Linked DNA regions of Homo sapiens: all the other regions are linked to region 1. Evidence: promoter capture Hi-C in 16 types of primary human blood cells and fetal thymus (Javierre and others, 2016). All regions are on one chromosome and are shown on one strand. Each heading gives the region's core, a stretch centred on a gene start or on the middle of the fragment in contact. The rest is flanking DNA. Distances are from core to core; before and after follow the strand shown.

Region 1 (2,541 bases), core at 26-2,525:
AGACCTGTTGAGGCACAAAGCCTCTCTCCAGTTGCTTGGAATACTCGATACCCACTCAGGATTTAAGGGTCCTTCCTCCCCATCAACTTCGTATGTTGCAAAACAGCAGCGATTTTTAAAGTTCTCAAACCATCCCTTGCTCGCATGATACTTATTTGGGTTGTCCTCCCCAGATGTTTCCCATTGGTTCCCTGTAGATGTATTTGGCCTGGTTGCAGAGGGCCTTCCGGGTCAGATGCCGCCCTCTGTCATCTGGCCTTCCACCTAAAAGGTTAACTGGGTCTCCACCTTCACGATGTTTACATTACAGGGGAATACACAGCAGCTTAGAGCAGATGGGCGACCAACTCTCCACGCTGGTCTTTCTTGGTTTCCTGAGGGTAGTGGAGGACAAGAGGGGAAAGCAGGGTCTTGCTCTGTCGCCCAGGCTGGAGTGCAGTGGCACAATCACCGCTCACTGAAGCCTCGACCTCCTAGACTTAGGGGACCCTCCCGCTTCAGCCTCCCGAGTAGCTGGGACTACAGGTGCGTGCCACCACACCGCACTAATTTTTTTCCTTTTTTTTTTTTTTTCTTTTTGGTAGAGACGGGTTTCTCACTATGTTGCCCAGGCTGGTCTCGAACTCCCGGGCTCAAGCGATCCTCCCGCCGCGGCCTCCCAAAGCGCTGGGATTACAGGTACGGCCACTGCGACCAGCTGCTTCTCCTTGGTGGACTGATCAACACCAACAAGGCGGCGCACGTCCCTATTACTCACGCCTTCGTCAGGCTCCTGGAGAATATTCATCCAGTCTTCCAGAGGCATGACGCTCCGCCTCCTCTTGACAGGTGGCTGGCCCAGGATCAAGATTCCCCTCCAGGCCACCGCTCCACCTGGGGAGGCCTCAGCCGCGGCCGTAGCCGCGGTGGCCTCCATAACGGCTGCAGTCGTCCCCGCCTAGAGCCTGGTTTTGGAGCCTCGAGGACGCCGACGAGGCTGTTTAACTTCCCGTGAGTCCCCACCCTCGCCGCTCCGCTGGCCGGGAATTTGGCAAGGCTTTGCCCTACGCGGTAAACACGTAAGCCTACTGGCCTCCGCATTTCCCTGAGCAGCGACCTAGATGACGCCAGACTGAGGGAGCCGCAACCACTGGCTACAGTTGACACGGCCCTAACGGAGGCTTCTCGCGAGGCTTGGCAGCCCCATAGCCATCTCAGGGACAAGGAGGCTGTGATCAGATCTCGCGAGGTTCAGGAAAGCGCCCCGGGAACTGGGCCGCTGGGCCAGCCCCTGCGTCGGGGGGCAAGATGGCAGCCCAGGCTTTGGCGCTGCTGAGAGAGGTAGCGAGGCTGGAAGCGCCGCTGGAGGAGCTACGCGCGCTTCACTCCGTGCTGCAGGCAGTGCCGCTCAACGAGCTTCGCCAGCAAGCGGCGGAGCTGCGCCTCGGCCCGCTCTTCTCCCTGCTTAACGAGAACCATAGGTGAGAGGACCCCGGGGGCTTGAGCCGAGGAGAGGGGCACCCCTAAATATGGACATGAGAGTGGTTGAGGGCAAGAACAGCGCTTTTCCCAGTCACAGGGGAGGTGGAAAGTAGCCGAAATTTGCAGAGAAGGAAGGATCCTGGGTTCAGAGGCAGGAGATGGGGTTCAGGTTCAGCCTCTGAGAGTGCCCCAGGGTGTTTTCTCCCGTCGCCTGGCCTCGCTGCCTCTGAGCAGTGAGGCACTGCCTTCTTCATCAAATAGAAATTAAAGGAGGAAAGCAAAGCTGTCCACTTACAAGGAGCATTCCACATCTCTTTGTACAGGTTCTTGATTTGTTTCCCCTTCTAAAAGGATCCTATCCTGGCAATGTGGCAAGAACCATCAGCATTTTAAATTCACATGCTTTTTCATCCAGTCATTCTTGTTAAAAAAATTTAATGCAAGTATACGCGCACAAAATGTGCAGTTACTTTGTTCTTTCGAACCCGAGGCTGGAATCGCCCCAAAAGCAGCGGCAAGAGAGTTCCCACGAGGGAGTGCTTCAAACCTTCCCGAGATGTGGCTGGTTGGGATGACAGAAAAAGAAGCACTGAATGCCAAGGCGATCAGTCCAAAAGCGTTTAGGGGGAAACCTGCAGAGGGCTGCAGAAATTGTCAAGACGGACACCGGGAGAAAGGTGTTCCTGGGTATGTCCGCAGTGAGGGGGTCAGGGTATGGAGTTCAGATGAGAGTTTAAAGGAATTTGGCTCAGGGTTGAGGCCAGTTTCTTCCAGTGTTTTGGGCAACAACCTAGGTACCTTTATCAGGCCTGTGAATGTTCAAGGCCCCTGGTTTATGGTCAAGCCTGCTAGGGAAACCTGCCGCTGGCTAGGTCAGAGAGCAATCAAGGCACTCTGATTTTCCATCAGGACAGAGAAAGAAAGGGGGCGACTGGAGGACCCTACAACATTATATGCAAGAATATAACATATCGTGTGTGGCACCAGAACACTAGAAACAATCTAAATATCCGTTAACAGAGGATTCCAAATTATGCGCTATTACTCTGTAACACTGTGCAGTTATTTAAGTTATTGAGG
Region 2 (2,541 bases), core at 25-2,524, 360 kb before region 1:
TATGACACTCAGTTTTTTCATTCATAAAATGGGGTAAATATAGTACTGACTTCATGCGGATGTGGTAAGGATTAAATGAGAAAATATGCATGATTCTTAGGACAGTTGCTGGTACATAGTAAGTGTTGAATAAACATCAGCTATACATAAAGATCTCCCTTCAGGTGATAATGGCTATAAGGAAACTTACTAGCCAGGTCTAAGTTCATACCTGGGCAATTAATGATCATTGGTTCACAGTTTTCTCCTTTACTTGGCACAGGCAAATTTCTTAGTTTCAAAAATGTTAAAGTGTGACAACAAACTATACTTATTAAAGAATGTGGAAATAGAAGCCTAGACCTCTAGGGTTGCAAAAGGATTTCAATATCACCTTAGATTAGATTATCATGTAATAATCATTTCCATTTCTTATTATATACCAGATATTTTGCATATACTATCCCATTTAATTTTCACAAAGACCTATTTGAGAGAGATATTACTATTTTCATATTGCAGAAAAGACTGACAATCTCAGAAATCAAGTGACATGCACAACTGCATACCATTAGATTATAGAGCAGGAATTCGAACCCAGGTCTCTGAAAATATGAGATGTACAAACTGGCACACACTTTTACAGTGAAATCTCACTTGTTCATGGCAGAACCAGTTCATAAAAGGTCCTGAACGCTAAGAGAAAGATTGATTTAATTTGGGGGTGGGGAACTAAGGCAGGGCCACCTTATCCATTAGGCACAGTACAGTATGCACAGGGCTTAGGGCCTCCAATACTTTTAGGGGCCAACAAAAATGAATATTTATTTATTTTAGAGACAGGGTCTCCCCATGTTGCCCAGGCTGGAGTGCAGTGGCTGTTCACAGGTATGATCCCATTACTGATCAGCACGGGAGTTTTGACCTGCTCCATCTCCGACCTGGGCCGGTTCATCCCTCCTTAGGCAACCTGGGTGGTCCCTCCCTCCTGAACTTAAGTGCAGACACTCTATCTAGTGACACAGTGCACTACAGCCCAGAACTCCTGGGCTCAAGCGATCCTCTCTCCTCAGCCTCCCCAGTAGCTAGGATTACAGGCGCAGACTACCAGCCCTCCTTGCTTACGTTCCTTTTTTTTTTTTTTTTGAGACAGTCTCGCTCTGTTGCCCAGGCTGGAGCGCAGTGGCGCGATCTCGGCTCACTGCAAGCTCCGCCTCCCGGGTTCACGCCGTTCTCTTGCCTCAGCCTCCCGAGTAGCTGGGACTACAGGCGCCCGCCACCACGCCCGGCTAATTTTTTTGTATTTTTAGTAGAGACGGGGTTTCACCGTGTTAGCCAAGATGGTCTCGATCTCCTGACCTCGTGATCCGCCCGTCGTGGCCTCCCAAAGTGCTGGGATTACAGGCGTGAGCCACCGCGCCCGGCCGGCTTACATTCTTTTAAAGTCAGAAGAAAAAAATGAACTTTCAGGTCAGAGAAAATATTTTGTTATATAATATTGATACGTCATGTTTATATCAATGCAGTTGTAAAATATGTTAAATATTTATACATATATTTAACTTACATGTGTGTGAAATATATGTGTGTGTGTAATGTACAAGCCACAAGGCAAAAGTGCTCAGGGTCCAAGAAAGTCAAAACGTGTCCCTGCACCCGAAAAGCACGAAACCTTCTGGGGCAGTGATTATGGCAGAGCAAGTTGGAAGATGGCAGGTGGTAGACAAATTGTGAAAAATATCACATTTCTCTCACCCTGTCAAAGGCAACCCCAAAGTGAAGTCAAAATAGAGATGAAATGCAGGGTCACTTCCTAGCTGCGTGATCTTGGACAAGAGAGTTGACCAACCTGAGCCTCAGTTTCTCCATGGATACAATGGGGATGCGTGCCTCCGACGTTTGTTGGACAGGACCGGTATATACGAAGCATACAGCGGTATATACAGTAAATGCCCCCATAAATACACGTTGAATGAATGCAGTAAATGCATGCTTAGCATGGTGGCCAGTATACGGTAAGCGTCCAATAAGTGGTAAATGTTGGCTTTAAAAATTGTTCAAAAGTCTCCACGAGCGACAACCCTAGTTCTCCAAGACGCAGGCGCACCCCACCAGGTTCCACGCAGACCTGCGCAGTAGCTCCCCCAAGAGGCGAGGACACGCGACTGCGCTTGCGCATACGCGCTTTCCACCTTCCCTCCGGGCGCGAGCGCCCGTGGGGCGGGCCTCAGCGGCGGCGCGACAAGTCCAGAGGTGAGGGCTGAGGAAGGGGCGTGGCTAGCGGGCTGGCCTCAGCCACCCTCTTCCGGGCTCCGCCAGCTGCGCGCGCATCTTCTCCCCCTTCTTTTGTGGTCCGGCCCATTGCGAGGGTGACAGGAAACCCTGTGCAGGGAGCGCCGCCATCTTGGACCAGCCCGAGGAAGATACTGAGGGAGCACAGGAGCAGTCACCGCTGCCACTGCTACTGCCGCTACTGCTGCCGGCGCGTCTGCACCTCTCGGCCTGCCAGTGTACCTGCCGGCGCCTCGGTCGACCGCCCCCGCCCCCTCTCCCGCTGCGTCC
Region 3 (2,541 bases), core at 17-2,516, 310 kb before region 1:
CCAGGCAAGGAGTGCAAGGGTGAAATGCCTAATGAAAACCTTGAGCTCACATACTTAAAACCACTCAAATCACAGTGATCACAGTAAGAACAACAATATGATAATCATGATCATCCCTCAGGTTACAGTTTTCCAAGAACTTTTATTTTTATACCCTAATTCCATTTTGACATCCTTGGTGATGGAAGTTAGTCAGAGATTTTTAAAATGTATTCATTTTTAAAATTAAAAATTCGTTGCAATTTTAAAGACAATACGTATTTGTTTACAAAAAAAAAAGAAGACCATGCAGATATGCAAAAGGAAGACAACAGAAAATACTCAAAATCCCCCCTTATCAGATGACCACTTTTGTACTTTGGTATTGACTAAAAATACAACCATAAGTGTTGATAAAGGCATTTAACAGAAATGATCTCATAGAGTATACCATGTTTTGAGACCCACTTTTTTTATTCAGAAGTATTGTATTGAGTTGGGATTCAAATTTAGTTCAGACTTCATGCTTAACAACTATAATACATAGCCGCATTTATTCTTTTCTACAATTAAACATGTATTACTTTTATAATCATAAAGTGCTGTGTCAGTTGTTTTTTCAAGGTGTCTATTGCCATACCTGGCTTTTCAGCTTTTCCAGCTCGGCTCTTTTGGCCTGAAGAAGCACCTCAGATTCTTTAAGGACCTGCAGGTGGTGATCCTCATTGCGTTCTGCCATCTCTATGTCTTTCTGTAGTTTCTGAAGCCTACAAAGCACCAGCAACACTAGAGCAGATCCTAAGGGACTCGGAACCCCAGAGCTGTCTTCCAGCACAAACCCCTTGTAGCCCTACAGAGGCCTTACTTACTCTTCTGTCAGTTTTTCCTTCTTCTTGCTTAAACATTGGAAGTCTGAGTCTTTTGCTGCTACAATTTTGTTTATTTCTTTCAAGATTTCTTCTTGCTTGATTTTGTGCTGCTCCAAATCCTTTGCATCAGCCTGGAGCGATCTAAAGCACATTGCTTTATTCCCCCCAGGTCCTGTAGACTTACCATGCATTATTTATCATAAACCAATTATTATCCCCTTAGAAGCAAACTTTTCATTCATCTCAATGTATACATCAACGGCTTAGGGAATCCACCTACCTTAGCTGCTGATCAGCTTTGACGAGGTTAACAGCAGTTTCCTGAGCTCTCCTTTCTAATTCCTCAGCATCTGACTCAGTTTGCAATAAACTTCTCTTGGCATCAGTGAACTTTTCAACAGCATTTTTTGTCTAGAAAAGAAACTGTCATTAAAAGCCATTCAGTTACAATACTCACTCACAGCTACTGGCCATGTAAACCAGTACAGCTCTTTTGGAAAACAAGATGGTACAGAAAGACATAAAAATGTCCATTCACTGTAACTCTAATTCTCGGTAAATAATTCAGAAGCAAAGAACTACTATATAAAAATGCTCAATGTATAATAATATAAGACCTGACAAATAATAATAGGCTAAGTGATAATGCATTAACAAAGTGGAATACTGTGTAGCCTTTCAAATGATCAGATGACAATGTAGCAACACGGAAGAATGTTAATATTATGTTGGCTGAGAAAAATAAATTTAAAATGGTATAAGCACTGTGAGAGCAACTGTGTAAAACTACATGTGTCAACAAAGACAGAAAGACTATATAAAAATAAATACAGTCATTTGAAAGTAGTGGAACTAAAGATGCTTTTTATTTCAAAATAATCTGTAATACTATTATATCATTTTAAATATTAAAACTATCTACCCAACTAAGTGGGAAGGAAGTGATTTTACCAAGATTTCCTCCACACAGAAATTCTTGCTGCACTCTATAGTTATTATCAAGCGAAGTAAAAATGCATTGATCTGGTGATAATGTAATTACGGCTGACAAACACAAACATTAAATACTTTGCAAATGTTTAAAATCTTCCTATATAAGATTTGGTAAAAACACATTTGTTTTAATCAACTTGGTTTCTTTTTCTGCCTAACATAAGATGCTTAAAACAATGACATCAAAAGTTCCAAAAATAAATAGAGTGTGGTTTGCACTTGGTTGAGCAGTGACTCACCTTCAGCCAAAAAAAACTGAAGTCTGCCATTGTACTAAAGCCAGAGGAGTCCGTATGTTAAATTTGCCTATTAAATATCTGTGTGGATGCAAAAGGGTTGGCAAGCTCCCAGAGAGCTACATATTTTACCATACGTCTTTCCATTTCAGATAGCTTGTTTCTGTCAGTTTCACCAGCAAAGCACTGGATAAAACTGGCTATGCATTCCAGAAAAGCCACCAAATAGTTTTTTGTCTCCTTCTATGTCAGGTTTTAACATGTCTGGCACACTCCTTCCAAAACACCACTACTTTCTCTCTCCTCCTCCTTCTTACCAAGCTGCCTCCCTGAGTCATTTTGGGAGGATGAAGGTGAAAGAACTTACCAGCCTTGGTTGACTTACTACCTCTGCCTACTACCACTGCCATCAATTTTCTTTTGATGATTTTATATATCTATACCTATATATATTAATATATAAC
Region 4 (2,541 bases), core at 24-2,523, 270 kb after region 1:
AAAACGTGAATATATTTTGACCCAGCAATTCCACTTCTTGTCATCTATTCTAGAGAAATCCTCATACTTGTGCATATGGGACCTTATAAGGACATTCATATGACATTGCATGTAAAAGAAAAACTTGGAAACAAATTGAATTATCATCAGTAGGGGATTGGGTAAATACACATCCTTTCAAAAGTATCTTTCAGACTGTGGCCCGTTGGTAGCTCATGAAATTCAATTTAGTAGGTTGCAACCAGGATTTAGAAAAATAGAACAGAATAGAAAACATTTCAAGGATGAAGGGTAATAATATTTCTTCTGTGGCTCATGGTCAGTAAGGTTTGAAGAACACTGCTGTAGAAAGCTTTGTAGGAGTTGAAAACTTTGAGGCATATCTATTTGTACTGTCATGAAAACATCATGAGGGCATATTAAGTAGAAGAAGGATGTTGTAGCATGATGTATACTGTTTGATTGCATGTGTTTTTAAGCAGCAAAATTGAAACTATCTATGTAAAAACACATAAAAAGTTCTGGAAGTTATAGGTCTTTTTGAAAACAGTGATTACCTCCTAGGCGGGTTCTAGATGGGAGCGAGGAGGAGCCAAGGAGAACTTTAGGCTTATCTGTATTTTTTTAAATTTATGTATTTTTCTCTAATTAAGAATAAAATAGAATGAAAAAGGGGTTGTTAAAAGACAAAAGTGAGTTTGTTTGTGTAATCGTTGTCAGAATGTGATATCTGGTCTCATCCATGACTCTCATGAAACAATTTGTCAAGGAGACATAAGACCCCTTGGGTCTTATGGTTTGAGTGGACAATTGTTGCTGGCATATGTAGGCATAGAAAGAGGTCAGTCCTTTTCGGTAGCAATAGAGCAAGATAGGAGGATGAGGTGGTGGAGCTCAGGTGAAGGTCCATTCAGTCACTCAAAAATTATCCACAAACAGTTGCTACAGCTGGGCGCGGTGGCTCACGCCTGTAATCCTAGCACTTTGGGAGGCTGAGGCGGTCAGGTCACCTGAGCTCAGGAGTTCAAGACCAGCCTGGCCAACGTGGTGAATCTCCATCTCTACTAAAAGTACAAAAAATTAGCCGGGCGTGGTGGTGCATGCCTGTAATCCTAGCTACTTGGGAGGCTGAGGCACGAGAATCGCTTGAATATGGAAGGTGGAGGTTGCAATGAGCTGAGATCACGCCACTGCACTCCAGCCTGGGCGATAGAGTGAGAGTCTCCAAAAAACCAAAACAAAACAAAACAGTCGTTATGATGGCTGTGCCCTGTGCTGAGTGATGGAAATTTTATGCCTCAGTCCATTCGGCCCTTAACCACCACCACACCCCTGCCACCCCCAACCTCCGGGAAGGCGTCAGGGGTACCAGGGTGGTGTAGGTTCACAGCAGGGGGTTTAAAGTCAGGCTGGCTTGGAGTTTCCAGCCTATTAACTTTTTGGTCTTTGTTTCCTCATTAAAAAAAAAAAAAAAAAAGGCAACATTAAAAAGTACCACCAGCCGCAGAAAGACTATAGTGAGGATTAAACCTGATTTTAGTTTCAAACATTCAGTTTAGAAAATGGACTTTAATCCTGTGGTGAGGATGAAAGGGAAGGCTGCCTGTCCTGTGCTGAGTGTGGTGCTTGTGCAGCATGGGTGCCCCATACAAGGGCAGGTTTCTTAGATTGTGCTTTATTTTGCACGTGAGGAAACTGGTACTCCACCATGTGTCACATTTATATAGGAGCTTTGGGCAGTCCACACACAGGCTAGCAAGTGGAAAAGACACTGGGATCCTGGATTTTGGGCTTGGCTTTGCCACTAACTTTTGTGATTTTGAGTAAATAAGTTCCTAACCCATTTCTGGGTTTCAGTCTTCTCATCTGTGGAATAAGATCATATCTGAGCCCTTTTGTTTTGCTTACATTGTCATTTCTCGTGAGTATCCCTGAGGCCCCAGCCTTAATTATAAGGCTACAAGTGAATGATTAGAATGGAAAGAGGGAGCTGCTTGTGGCTGGAGGTGTAGTTGGAACTGACTGGAGGGTGCAGATGACAGATTCATAGCATTTTAAAAGTGGGTAGGTAAAGCCCGAGTGGAAATTTGGCAGGATCCAAGCAAAAATTTCTGCATTACATAGTGGTTTTGTCTAAGAGTTGGGATGTCAGATGTCATTTTTCAAACTTCAGTGTTTGCCTGTAGGAAGCTTGTCTAAGACCAGAATCTTTGGCTTTGTTTGCTAGGTACTTTTCAGCTGTGATTGATCTTGGCTTGAGTTATTCATGGGCAGTTTTAGCCAGTGGGAGTTAATGTAATGGCTCTGGTACCCGGAGAGAACCCCAGATTGAGAATGCAGGACCAGACCTTAGGCTGAGCTTGGCCAATAACCTGGTGTATGTGACCTTGGGCTTCTGGACCACCATCTGCAAAAGGTGATGGTTGAACTTGATTTTAGTTTTTAAAATTCAGTTTAGAAAATTGACTTTGTCCTTTTAGTGATGTTTATTGGAGGAAATTGAGAATTATATAACATTAAAAAGGAAGAAAACCTCTCATT

The links. The method cuts DNA at HindIII sites, captures the fragments that hold promoters and counts their contacts. A CHiCAGO score of 5 or more calls a contact.
Region 2: a fragment that was not itself captured here is called in contact with the fragment with the promoter of PSMD5 in region 1 in 8 of 17 cell types (naive CD4 T cells, naive CD8 T cells, non-activated CD4 T cells and 5 more); the score reaches 12.5 in naive CD4 T cells.
Region 3: a contact is called between a fragment that was not itself captured here and the fragment with the promoter of PSMD5 in region 1, in 5 of 17 cell types (naive CD8 T cells, naive CD4 T cells, total CD4 T cells and 2 more). The highest score is 9.7, in naive CD8 T cells.
Region 4: a contact is called between a fragment that was not itself captured here and the fragment with the promoter of PSMD5 in region 1, in 1 of 17 cell types (neutrophils). The highest score is 6.4, in neutrophils.

Annotation. Positions count from the first base shown.
Region 1 is chr9:120,841,656-120,844,196 of GRCh38, reverse strand. It overlaps PSMD5 (proteasome 26S subunit, non-ATPase 5), which reads left to right and starts at 1,275. Exons shown (of 10, transcript NM_005047.4): 1 at 1,275-1,460. The coding sequence starts at 1,288. It also overlaps the pseudogene CUTALP. RefSeq lists enhancers at 704-1,053, 1,012-1,306, 1,072-1,366, 1,254-1,553, 1,125-1,654. The HindIII fragment of the contact is 10,742 bases long and covers 1-2,541 here.
Region 2 is chr9:121,201,709-121,204,249 of GRCh38, reverse strand. RAB14 (RAB14, member RAS oncogene family) reads left to right here and starts at 2,381. Exons shown (of 8, transcript NM_016322.4): 1 at 2,381-2,541. It also overlaps a transcript of GSN not described here and the pseudogene RN7SL181P. RefSeq lists enhancers at 1,800-1,959, 2,230-2,449, 2,268-2,541 and a silencer at 2,460-2,541. The HindIII fragment of the contact is 7,258 bases long and covers 1-2,541 here.
Region 3 is chr9:121,156,188-121,158,728 of GRCh38, reverse strand. CNTRL (centriolin) reads right to left here. Exons shown (of 44, transcript NM_007018.6): 28 at 1,129-1,259; 29 at 849-989; 30 at 620-746. Among named protein-coding and RNA genes, the nearest start is that of RAB14, 44 kb to the left of the region's middle. The HindIII fragment of the contact is 9,656 bases long and covers 1-2,541 here.
Region 4 is chr9:120,573,758-120,576,298 of GRCh38, reverse strand. The region is part of intron 1 of CDK5RAP2 (CDK5 regulatory subunit associated protein 2); the gene reads left to right. Among named protein-coding and RNA genes, the nearest start is that of CDK5RAP2, 5.1 kb to the left of the region's middle. The HindIII fragment of the contact is 1,838 bases long and covers 355-2,192 here.